Regions from separate parts of the Homo sapiens genome. Here region 1 is linked to region 2. Evidence: promoter capture Hi-C in 16 types of primary human blood cells and fetal thymus (Javierre and others, 2016). All regions are on one chromosome and are shown on one strand. Each heading gives the region's core, a stretch centred on a gene start or on the middle of the fragment in contact. The rest is flanking DNA. Distances are from core to core; before and after follow the strand shown. Region 1 has its middle 240 kb from the start of RBMS1. Region 2 holds the start of RBMS1 (RNA binding motif single stranded interacting protein 1).

Region 1 (6,815 bases), core at 4,123-6,622, 240 kb before region 2:
ACTTTATTCAAATTATCATAATATTATTCAAATAATCATAACACAGCATTGGGTCTTTGACCTATTAATTATCCTTTCATCCATTCCCTCCCTGCTGCCGAGTTAATTAGTCAGATGGCAGGGTCTCTGCTTTATGTACATTATCTCAACCACAGAAAGCCACAAAGTTGTGTCAAGAACTGCAGTGTTAGAGTCATCCTTTTCCGTTCTAATAATCATGTATGCAAATTATTTTAAAATCTTTTCCTTCTGGCTAATAGCGTTACTATTCAGAGGAAAACAGGCTTCCCTTCATCCCTTTTCCACTGTGTGTGTGTGAGAAGAAATGAGTGACAGCCAGCCACCCACCACCCCAGATTGCATCCTTGTCCTAGTTTTTTCCCTCCTTGAGGCAGAGAAAACTACTTCTTAGACATGTGGAATTCTCTTTATCCTGCCCTTTGTGCCCCAAAGCCATGATTGAGTATTCTTGATTGACACTGGCAGTGGGATATGGTGCTGTCCTCTGCTCCACCAACACCACTGGGCTCATCATTCAGAAATCTAATCCCAAGCAGTTCACAGAGTGGCTTCCTGAAATTCTTTTCTTATGTACCCATAGAGCTTACCCTATGACATCAGTCTCCGTAAGCAAACAATGAGCCACATATCTCATGTCAGAAATGCCACAAGGGTGCTAATTTTTTATATACTTCTGAACAAACTGAATGGGTTTTCTGTCAAACTTTGTGCATTTTTTTAAGAGTACAAGAGCCCTTTCAGATTGACGAGGAAAAAAATTTTTGTGAATGCAAGAATGAAGTTAGCACAGCTTTATTCTCCATGCTATCAGTGAAAGTTAAGTCAGGAAAACAGAAACTACTCTAGCTATTTCAAACAGTGAAAATGTAATATAGTGAATTGGTTGCACCATGATGGAAGAGCTAAGAAACCAATTAGGAAATGGAGGCAACCCAGAGATTAGCAACAGCAGGAAGCCACAAGTACCCACAGGGAGGACTCATTAGTCCTAGAACCAAGAAGCCAGTCCTTCCAGCTCAAGCTAGAATCATGGAGGTGGCTTCTCAGGGGAGGTGGAACCAAAAAGAAATGCAATCACTGCAGGAAACTACCCCATGAAGCCAAACTAGAAAGGCAGAAATACCTTGGCTGCTTCCTTCTTCCTGCAGTCTAATCTCTCAGTAGGCCCCCACGGATGGAATTTAGCTAGAAACCAGGTGCAAAAAAATCTGGAAAATCTTATTTGAAGAAGGATGAGAGATGAGTCTGGAAGTTGTATCCATCTTCTTTTGCAGTGATAGTTGAGTGAATACAGAGCATTTAATCAGCAACACTTAAATGACAAATCCATATACAGTGCACATAGAATATGCTCCAGTCATCTAGAATTCATGACCACTCACAAGAAGTTTACTGTAGTCTAAATAACTAAAGAGTAAGCTAGGCAAGTTAAAGTAATAAACAAAACCACCTAAGAAGCCAACTATTTCAAGGATTCTGGTATCTCTGGGATGCTGTGGTTGGCAGAATAATGATGTGGTTGGCAGACTGACCCTCCCAAATTTACATATACAAGTCCTAATCCTCACAATCTGTGCATGTTACTTTACATGGCAAAAAAAAAAAAAAAAAGAAAGATTTTTCAGATGTGATCAAGGTTGAGGACTTTGATAGTTTACCCTAGATTATCTGGGTAGGCTCAATCAAAACACATGAGTCCTTAAAATTGTAGAACATTTCTTGGGTGCAATGAGAGAAAGGAGGAGGATGAAAGGAGGTGTCAGAGAGATGGAAAGAGACACCCCCTGCTATTGCTAGTTTTGACAACGGAAGAAGGGAGTCAGGGGGCAAGAAACATGGGTAGCCTCTAGAAAGGGAAACTGGAAATAGCAAGAAAACAGACTCCACCTATTCAAGCTTCTTCCATTCATCACTTTTTTCACTAGCTTCTCCATCACTTCCATCAGTAACACATAACCTTGCTGTTAGTTCTTCCATCTTATAAAAAATGAACTCAAAAACCTTCTTGTGACCTCCAACTCCCTATAGTTACTACTCCATTCTTTTGCTCCTCTGTACAACAAGCCCTTTAAAAGTATTATTCTATACTTGTTCTGTTTAATTCCATATTTCCTAGACTCACTTAAGCCCACTCCAATTAGGCTAACTGCCCCCTTTTAATGGTCAATTCTCAATCCTCGTGTTACTCAATTCTCAGACTTCATCTGACCTGACTTAGCAGCAGCATTTGACATGGTTGATCACTGTCTCCTCCTTGGTGCCCTTTTTTCCCCTGACAGCTGGAACATCAAGTTCTTTCTTCTTTCCTTCTTCCTCAGTCTTCTTTGTTGTTTTTCCTTCTTATCCCTGACCTCTTATGTTGCCATGCCCCAGGTCTCAGACTTTGGTTATCTTCTCTTTGCTATCTATGCTCATCCCCTTGATGATCTCATTCCTTCTCATGGATTTAAATACCACCTACACACTGATGATTTCCAAATTTTATCCCCAGAGAAGGATTCTCTGTAGAACTACAGACCCAGATATCCAAATGCCTAATTGCCATTTCTACTGGAATGTCTAATAAACATCTCAACGTGGCCAGACTGAACTCCAGGTCCTCTCTCCAAATGTACTCTACCTTGGCCTTCTCCATCTCATTTTGTGATACCCCCATCCCCCCATTTGCTCAGGTTAGAAATCTTGGAATCATCCTTGACTCCTTTTCTTTTTACTCCCACCTTCAAAACATACACAGATATCAAAAACAATGAACATACCTGGCAACTACCTACCAATATTTAATTGAAAGGAACCAGTAATTCTTGGAGACATGGTTGATTCTTGGGCCAGGGCTGGAAAAGTACAAAATAAACCTGGACCATCTTAGTGTGCTACAAATGAGAAAGTACTCAAATTAGGACAGGGACATGTCAAAAGGACACAGGAACCATTTTAAAGGGCTCCCATTGACCAAATCTGAGATATTTGAGTACTTAAACAAATAATGATATTAATAGGTTAAGATTCATTGAACGAAGAATACATGTTGTTAATTAATAGAGGGAGAAGGGAAAATGTTCTGTTTCAGTAGAAAGCCAATAGTAAATTTAGAAGAAATGACAGAATTAGAAAAGTCATCATTCAGCATTGTGATAATTATCAGTTCATGGAAGAATCATCAATGCATGCCAAAACCAGTGGTGAAAGTTTGATAAGTGGCGGGATATTTACTGCATAGTTTCAAAGTATCTCCCCACAAGTTATTTTTTAATTAAAAAGAAAAATTAGTGACTTTACATTGGATAAACCTGACAGACACCACCTTAACTAAGTAACCTTAATAGAAGTGGGATAAATCAATGGCACATGTCTGTGCCTCCCGTTGTATGATGCACTGTGAAAGACATAGCATCACCTCTGTGCCAAGAATGTATTCCTGCCAAAAATGCAGAACCTACACCTAATCATGAGAAAACACCAGACAAACTCAAATTCAGGGACATTCTAAAGACAAACAAACAGAAAACTGGCCAGCATACTTAAAAAATGTCAATGTTACTAGGGACAAAAAGACTGGAACTATTCCAGATTAAAGGAAACTAAAGAGAAATAGCAACACAAATATGATCCAAAATTTTCCTTTGCTTTAATGGATATAATTCGGACACATAGTGAGATCTGAATAAGTTCTGTAGGTTAAATAACATTATTGTATCAATGGTGATCTCCTGATTTGGATAATTGTTCCGGGGTTATATGAGAGAACGTGTGTGTGTGTGTGTGTGTGTGTGTGTGTGTGTGTGTGTGTGTGTGTGTGTGTGTGCATGCGCTCATGTGTGGGTCTGCGCGTGCGCGCGTGTGGAGCGAGCGAGAGAGAGTACGCAAATGTACCTGGGAACTTGTATTATTCTTGAAAGTTTTCTATGACCTTAAAATTATGTCAAAATAAAAACAATTTAATTTTTTTAGAAAAAATGTATAAATCCAGATTCTTTCTTCTCAAAATCCTTGCTGCTGCCACTCTCATCGCAGCCACCATCATCTTTCACCCTACTCACCAAAGTAACCTCCTCACTGGTCTCACTGTTTCTGCCCTTGTCTCTTGCAGTCTGTTTTGAACACATTGGCCAGGGTGGTTCTTTTAGAATATATATCAGACCACGAAGACCCTCTACTCTGTGCTCTTTAGTTGCTTCTCGTCACTCCCAAAGCACAGAGCCCCTACCAACGCTCAAAAGACTCCCCGACCCCAAACATGACTTTCCATCTGCTGATCTCTTCTGTCTTCCATCTCATCTCACTCTCTCCTCTCCAGTCATACTGGCCTTCTTCCTCTAATCTTTAAGGCCTTTGCACTGGCAGTTTCAAGTGTCTTCATCAAGCTGATCAAAGTTCTTCATCAAGATAACCAAAAGGTTTCCTTCAGTCTTAAATATTTCTCAGTGGTGCTTACTCTATCATCCTATTTTAAATGACAGCAGTTCCATCTCCATTACTTTGCTCTATTTTCTATTTTCATCATTTTTTTAACCTTCTATCGTACCATATGATTTGCCTATTTATTCCGTCTACTATAGATTTTCTATGTCCAACTATTAGAAGGTAAGTTCCATGAGCAGAGAGATCTCTGTCAATTTTGTCTACAAATATATCCCAATACAATGTTTGTACAAAGTAAATGCTTAAATATTTCTTAAAATTAAGAAATATTTCTAGAATAAATTAATGACTGTGTGCTTCTCACAGTCTTGCTTTTTTTTTGCTAAACATTAGGTGGTACCTGGGATTTATCATGTCGTGATATATAGTTAGAATTTATTCATTTCTCACTATTATACAGTAGTCTATCGTATGCATTTCCCACAGTTTACTAACAATTTTGATGGATATTGGGTTTTATGCAAGTTTTTTCTTTGTTTGCTTAGATTATTACTAACTGTAGATACAGGTATAATTGGATATATTCCCAGTATACATATATAAGCTTTTCTCTGTGGCACAAATACACGAATAGAATTCCTAGGTAATGGAATATGTGCATCTTCAAATTTACAAGATAATGTCAAACTGTTTTCCAAAGGCATTGTCCAGAATGACATTTTAAAATTATATATTAGATCATGTCACTCTTCTGTTCTAAATACTCTGATGGTTTCCTGTCATATAGAGAATAAAACCCAGCTTCTCATTGAGGCCTCTGGTGTCTTACTTGATTTGATCCCTTCCTATTTCTCTGACCTTGTCAATCACCTTTTGTCTTCCTTACTCTGGGCCAGCCTCCTGCATCCTTTCCCTTTCAAAGAGGGAACTTACAATACCTTGCCTTTGCCTGCAATACTATTCCTCCACATATTCACTTGGGTTGAGTCCTCATCCATTCAAATCTTAATTAAGAAATTACCACTTGAATGAGACTTATTTAAAGTACCTGTTGGAAGACAGAATAATGGACTCCTAAAGATGTTCACACCCTAATCCCATGGAAACTGTGAATAAGTTATTTTATGTGGCAAAAAGGAATTAAGGTTGTAGATGAAATTTAAGTTGCTAATTAACTGACCTTAAAATAAACAGATTGTCTTGGATTATCTGGGAGGACCCAATATAATCACATAGCTTTTAAAATAGGAAAGCCTTTCCTGGCTGTGGTCAGAAGAAGAGGTGACAGTGAATGAAGGGTCAGAAAAATGTGATGATGCTGCTTCACATCAGTAGAAGAAGGGGATAGCAAGCCAAGGAATGTGAGAAGCTTCTAGAATCTGGAAAAGCAAGGAAAGGGATTCTCCCCTAGAGCCTGCTGATGCCTTGATGCTGGTCCATTGAGACCAGGGTAAAACTTCTAACCTGCAGACCAGTAAGACAACAGTTCAAGTTATTTTAAATCACTAAATTTGTGGTAATTTGCTAAAGCAGCAATAGAAAAGTAGTACATACCCAAAATGACAACCCCAATTCTCTGTACCCTGCCTGTGCTTTATTTTTCTTCATAACTCTGAACACTACTTGCCATTTTACCATATATTTGCTATTATTTAATATTAATGTCTGTCCCCAGTAAGTTACAAAAGACAGTTTGTCTGCCTCATTCTCTGTTGTATCCATGGTACCTAGTGCAGTACATGAACAGAATGGACACGTGTCAATAAATGTCTGTTGAAAGAATATTGAATTCATGAGTTTACCTTAATAGGAGTATTCATTTCTGAAGCTGCTTCTATACTATCAACCTGAAACTGCAGATTTAGAATTGCCATAACACCATCAATGTACTCTTCAGATTTTACCCTTAAAATTCTGTAATGGTGAAGTTCATTTTCCTGCAGGAAAACTTACAAAATAGTAATAAGTTGATGCACCCAGGGCTGATTAGATTTAGGACAACCCCCACTGATCAGCAGGAGGAACTCCTAAGCCCACTTTAATAAATGAATAACATTTCACCAATTTCACCTACTGTTTAGAGAACCTCCTCCAGCCATAAATCAGCTCTATGACCTAAGAACAGGGCAGGGGATTGTCAAAGTCCCTTTACTGAGTAATTCCAGAAATGCCTTAGAGCTCAACAAAGGAGGAATCTGACATTAGAAAGCTGGAATTTACAACCTAAGGGAAAGCCCCAGTAGGGAAAAACAAAACATCAGGCTGAACATCCTATAAGACCTTTTCAGTTTTGCTTACAAAAAGTCTTCATATCTCTGTAAAAGATGTTTTTCAATGAAGCAAGTTAATCCACTAAAATTCAGCCTCAGTGGTAACTATGACTGCAAATCTCTACCTTTGTCATGATTCTTTCTACTGTTCAGGAGGTGATC
Region 2 (6,561 bases), core at 2,782-5,281:
CTTCTCCGTAGACAATTTCTAACTAGTAAGTGCAGAAGAAATTATAAAAGGAGAAAAACCACAATTTGTAACTCCTAATTTAAAAAAAAATGGATTGAGGTAAAACTCATGAATGTAGAAAAACATCCTGTGAATGGTTGATGGGGAACTTTATAATGAACAAGTCAGACTGATAATGCCTGAACTTCTGATCAACTTAACATCCCTAAAAATGAGACAACCAGACATTATGGTTTTCTGATGGGATACACATCACATCACATTCCCTATGTGTGTTCAGTACCATCTAGGAACTATTCTTTGTCAAAAAAATGTGAATCTGCATCTAATCAAACCTCTAGAACTAACCATCATTGCAAATGACACCATGAGGTTGCAATCAGCCATGCGGGAAATTCTGCAGGACAAATGACCCAAATCCTTTAACAAGTAAATATCAAATTTAAAAATGAATGGGGACAAACTTTTTTATTAAGAGAGTCTTAAGAGACATATCAACCAAATTTAATATGTGGACATTGTTTTAACCTGATTTAAATAGACAAACTACAAAAAACGATTTTTAGACAACAGTGGAAAATGAACAAGAATTGGGTATTAGCTCACATTAACAAATTATTGTTAAATTTTTTGGGTGTGACAATGGTATTATGTTTTAAAAAGTTATTTGTTAGAGGAAGGTAGTAGAATAGTTACTGGTGAAATATGATGCTTGGGATTTGCTTTGAAATACTCTAGAAAAATAAAAGTAAGTGTGTGTGTGTGTTTGTGTGTGTGTGAGACAGAGAAAGAGAGAAGAGGGAAGAAAAAAGAATGACAAAATGTTGATGAATGTTGAAGCTGGATGTTAGGAACAGAGGGTTCCTCTGCTTTTGTATTTGTTTGAAAATGATCATGCTTAAAATTAAAAGCTGATTTTGTTTTAAAATGTTTTCACATGAAATACAGCAAAAATACAAAAGAACTTATGAACATTAAAACAAAAGTATTGAAATGTAGTCTCATGTTATCAATAACCCAGAGCAAAACATCCAACATTACTATTTCTAGAGGTCTCCTTCGGCCCCTCCTTAAATACTTCATCCTTCTTCTTCCTAAGAGATACTGTTTTGAATTTTATGTTATTTTACTTTTGATTTTCCTTATAAAAGTTTTTAAAAACTACTCTTGCACCTATTCTTACATAACATACTGTTTAGTTATTTTTTCTGTTTTTGAACTTCATACAAATGGAATCATGCTTTATGCATTCTGTTGACTTGCCTTTTTCATTCAACATCAGTTTTGAAATGATCCATGTTGATGCTTTTAACTGCAGCTTATTCATTTCTGTTTCTGCAACGACTCCAATGTGTGCATATACTAAAACCTTTTTAATCCACTCTACAGTTGGTAGACATTTGAGTTATTTTCTGCATATTATGAACATTCCTGTATATTTCTCCTGGTGCACATATAAAATAATTTATTTAAGGTACGTACCTGTTACTGTGTTGTAGGAAACATGCAAATGAAATTCAGGAATGCCAAATTGTTTTCTAAAGTGGTGGTTAGACCAATTTATACTTCCTCCAGGAAGCAGTGTTTTCAGATTTCCCCCCTTCCACATTTTTACCTACTCTTAATATTTTTAGAGTTCTTAATTTTTGCAAATCCGGTGAATATGAAATGGTATAGTAGTATTATTTTAATTTGCATTTCTCTTATTACTAATGAACTTGAGCATCTTTTTATATGTTTTCTGAATATTTGTGCTTCTGTGAAATACACATTCATTCTTTTGTTCATATTCTAACAAGTTCTCTTTTTTTATTGATTATTTATACATTCTGTATACTAACCTTTTGTGTTATATGTATTACAGGTATTTAGTGGCTTTTATCGCTTTTTATAAAATCCTTCAATGAACCAGTGTTCTTAATGTTAACAGTCAAATCTGTCAATCTTACACTGTTGTTCCCCTTATTTAACCAATCTTTCCTATTTCAGGGTCAAAAAGGTATTCTTCTATATTGTCTTCTAACAGCTTTATACTTTTGTTTTTCACATCCAGGTCATGATTCACCTCAATTTTCCACCCTCCTCCCTTGGTATGTGTGAGGCAGGGCTCCCATTTCATTTTTTCCATATGATTGCCAGTTGACCCAGAATCATTTATTGAAAAGTTCATTCTTTCTCCACTGCGCTATAATACCAACTCAGTCATAAATCAAGTGTCTATACAAGTGTAGGTCTGCTTTTGGGCTCTCTAAAACAGGCTGAATTTCCATCATCCAGAAAAAACAGTAAGTAGAACAGTCTAAGTTTGGTAGTTTCCCTTATTACCTCAAACCTAGAACTTCTGCGATTGTTCTCGATTTACTTCTCTTCCTTCTGTCACTCTTCCAAACCATCATTCCTAGTCTTCCTAAAGCACAATTTAGTTCATGTCAGTTCCCTGTTTAAAAACATTAAAAGGCCCCACATTGAAACAATATGGGAAATATTTTAGGCTCCCCTAGTCTGACAGTGACCCATTCCACTTTTCAGGTCTGCATGCACCTCAACAGTGCCTACAATATAGCAGACATAGTAAATATTAGCTTCCTTATAGGCTTTTACATAGGTAAATGAGAGGGACATGATTTGCCTCCTGGCAGAGCCAAAATGTTCTCACCTATACTTATATTTATTTTGTTTTTGTCAAACATGTAAGATCTAGAAATTTGTCTAAACCATAGAACGATTATAAGGGTTTCAGGTCCTTATTTTGTCATTGTTTTAAAGTATCTTACTAAACCTATTTTAAAATGTTATCATATAAAAATAATAACTGTTTAACAAAATAATGCATTCCAGTTGAGTTTAATTTACCTTGTGCTATTAACAAAAGACTCTTCAAAAACCAAAATGACAAAGTAAACAAGGTCTATTTAATAACAAACACAGTTTTTTATTACATTTTATTAGATGTGCCGGAACCCTAATTTGAGGATGCTTGCTTACCTATGCTATCCGTATGTACATTTTGGTATTAGCTCTCTTTTTGAGCTGGAATATAAAAGTCTTCTGCAGGCAGCTTCGGGGACCAATTAATTCCATTAAATTATATCTAGTTATGTAGTGAACTGAACCACTGCTGGTCTGAGGCTGTCTAGAGCTGTGACAATTAGGAGATGGAGAGAGGCAGAAAGAGAGATTGATTTTATATGTCACTGAAGCACACTGCAACAATATGCCAGCGTGACTTTCAAAATGGCCTTAAAATATTCCAAACTCAGGGAGTTTCCTTGCTCCTGAGTGGGAGTTGACAGACTGTCTGGCAGCATTAGAAAGAGGCAGAGAAAAGCTGATGTCTATATTGTGTCCTCTAATAACATTCTGCCTCTTTGCGGCATCCCCCTCTTAGAAGGATCCGTCTATATGTTGTGAGGGGTGTGTGTGTGTGTGTGTGTGTGTGTGTATGTATGTATGTGCTTTGCCTCCCCTTGTGCAAGGGGCATGATTTCACGTCTCACATCTGGGAAAACCAAACCGAAGGACGCTAACCCTCCCAAGGTCACCTAGATTAGTCTTGTGGCCCCGGGTCGGGGGTGGGTGGGAGGAACAGAACCCAGGTGTCCAGACTCCAGCTTTGTTGGGCATTAAATCATTTTCCTTCCCTTGTGAAAAAAAATTACTGGGCGGTGGGAAGTGAACGATTAATCAGATTTCCTCTTTTCCCTTATTTCCCCTCCCCCTTACGAAGATAAAAACTCGGGAAAGCAAAAGAGGTGCCCGCCCTGCAGTTCTTAAGCTGGGTCCCCCCGCATTCCCCCTCCACCCCCACTCCCACTCCCATTTCCCCACCCCCGACACAAAGCGATCTGGACTCACAGGGCTTCCGCCCGTCCAACCGCGAGCCTGGGAGGTGAGGAGTGGTTAAAACTCAGCCCTCACCTCCAGCGGGTCCCGGGCTCGGCGGCGCCCAGGCCCCGCCCCCGCCCGCCCTTCCCCCACGGCCTCGGAACGCCAGCCCCTCTCCTCTCTCCACATCGGGCGCACCCACCCCAGATGCCGCCTGGCACCAAGCGCAGCCGCCGCTGCCGCACTTTCCACTTGTATTGATCACCTCTCAGCCCCGCGCAGCCGGCTCGCCCGAGCGGACCGCGGCCAGCGCGCCAGCCCTTGGCAGCCCCGGAGCAGTCGGGCTCCGGGAGGAAACTCCTTGGGAGCGCCCTGTCCGGGGTGCCCTCTGCGCTCTGCAGTGTCTTTCTTTCTGCCTGGGAGGAGGAGGAGGAGGAGGAAGAGGAGGAGGAGGAGGAGGAGGAGGAGGAAGAGGAGGAGGAGGAGGAGGACGTCTGGTCCCGGCTGGGAGGTGGAGCAGCGGCAGCAGCAGCAGCCGCCGCCGCCGCCGCCGCTGCCGCCGCCGCCGGAAAGGGAGAGGCAGGAGAGCCCGAGACTTGGAAACCCCAAAGTGTCCGCGACCCTGCACGGCAGGCTCCCTTCCAGCTTCATGGGCAAAGTGTGGAAACAGCAGATGTACCCTCAGTACGCCACCTACTATTACCCCCAGTATCTGCAAGCCAAGGTAAAGGGGCGCCGGGGAGAGGTGACGGCCGGAGGAGGGGGCCCGGGGACGCGCGCAGGGTCAGGCCTGGGGAGGGGGGCGCGCGGCGAACCCCCGCCACCGCCGGGCGGAGTTGCTGGAAGGTTGCTAACTATAGCGCTGGCCTGGGCAGAGCCGGGCGGCGCGCGGGGCGGCGGCTTCCCTGGGAGCGGAGTGCGGGGATCGGGTTACAGAAAGCCGCGGGGGGAGAGACTAGACAGGAAAGAGCCACCAGCCCCTTCCTGGCCCGGCCAGCGGGGAGGGTCGTGGGGTCGAGCGGCGCCCCTCGCCGAGCCCTGGCTGGCCGGCGGCCGTCGCCTGGTGTGCGCGTCTGGATCCGCTGGTGGCCCGGCTTTTCGACCCCTTCTCCAAGGGCCTCGCCCTGTAAGCTGTAACTCTTCGCTCCCCTCGCCGTGGCGCGGAGCCTCCCGCCCCCCAGGGACGCCCCTCCACCTCCCGCGCACGCGATGACTGGGGCTGGAGGGGCGGCGGGGCCGGGATATTTTCCTCCCCGCCTCCGGCCCTGAGCGCCCGCCCCTCGCCTCTGATCTTTGTGCGGTGTGGCACTTCACCTGGTTACTGATTTCTACTTTTACGCTGGTGTTTTGGGTAGAAAAGTGGCCAAAGTTCACTCGCGTTCATTGATGTCCCTTCTAATCTCTAGAGGTTTTGCAAAGGAGGGACAATGGGCAGATTTCAGTGCAGAGAAAGAAGTGACTTCGTATTTGGTTAAAAAAGAAACAAAAACAAAACTAGCTTATATGTTTGCCACAGATCGATTTCCAATGTTGCTTTTTAAAAAGTGACCTCGGCACACTCTTGGGTAACAACAGTTGATGACATGTAGCCATACAAATTGCGCCTGGCTTTCTAGGGACCCTGGGTACTTTGTTAGTGGGCCTATCTTATTTTTACAATAAGAATTTGATGCCTCCCGAACTCATTTAAAAAAATTATTTGGGCCATGAAGACTGGAAATTTCACTGCTTTGGAAGCAGCCGCCAGAATTTGGGAGGGTGGAAGTTGGACGCAGCAGCCTTCTTCAGCCATTAACATCTATCACAACTCTGGGTGCCCTTCTAGATCACAAAAGAATCAGGTATGGATGCAGTGTCCGAACTTTCTTTGGGAGGTTGTAATCATGCTCTGCTTGCTGGTAGTTGGGCATTTCCGGCCTGGTACAAAGAATCTCTGATTCAGCCTTTTCTTTCTTAGAATGTGTGTGGTCCACGTTTTCATGTACTTACGACATAGCCCTGTATTTGTCTACGTAAAAAGGACACTTGTCAGTTTCGAGACCAGAAATGTCCTAGCAATCCCGGGCCTCATTTTCACTTCCCCCAATTCCCACTTTACTTTGGGTCACCAGAAAGCAGCAAGATGGTAGCAGCAAGGATACCCCTTATTCATCTCTGTGTAGTTCTCACAGTATTTGTTTTAGGAACTTGCAGGAGATGCTAGTTTTCTGTGAGCTACATGGTAGCTGTTCAAAGAAATTTTGTGGCATAATCAATGCACTACCTTTTAGATATCTTATATATTTAATGCACTTGTTTAAATTATGCAGCATTGGGTGCCTAAAGGACAGCTTATTCAACACTTAACAATATGAATAATAAATACACCCACTCAGGTGAGGAAGAAAAAAAGCCATGTTTCTACAGGCACATTTACCTTAGTAATTTTTATATACCATTAGTAAGTTAGAAACCAAGTCCATACCATTTAATGTAGCTAATGCAATGCCATTTGGCTTTTTTGCCCTGTAAATAATTGAAGAGAGAGACAAACGGCAAGAGCCTGCTCTAGTAATTAGGGTCGGATCCCAGAAAGCTTTACGGCCCATTTTCTGAAAGTGTGCTTCCTGCATAAAGCATTTAATATTGATTTGTGTTGCGGTAAATGACATTCTCAAAACATTTTGCTAATTCTACAATTAAATCTGAAATCCTATTATTCGGAATTCCTTTGTTTCTGGAGAAAGGTATACATAC

Evidence for each region. Contacts are between HindIII fragments. The CHiCAGO score rates a contact against its expected background, and 5 or more counts as called.
Region 1: a contact is called between a fragment that was not itself captured here and the fragment with the promoter of RBMS1 in region 2, in 1 of 17 cell types (monocytes). The highest score is 5.4, in monocytes.

What each region holds. Positions count from the first base shown.
Region 1 is chr2:160,730,572-160,737,386 of GRCh38, reverse strand. No RefSeq gene overlaps it. Among named protein-coding and RNA genes, the nearest start is that of RBMS1, 240 kb to the right of the region's middle. The HindIII fragment of the contact is 765 bases long and covers 4,990-5,754 here.
Region 2 is chr2:160,491,277-160,497,837 of GRCh38, reverse strand. It overlaps RBMS1 (RNA binding motif single stranded interacting protein 1), which reads left to right and starts at 4,031. Exons shown (of 14, transcript NM_016836.4): 1 at 4,031-4,549. The coding sequence starts at 4,475. RefSeq lists a silencer at 3,604-3,783 and an enhancer at 3,970-4,490. The HindIII fragment of the contact is 13,330 bases long and covers 1-6,402 here.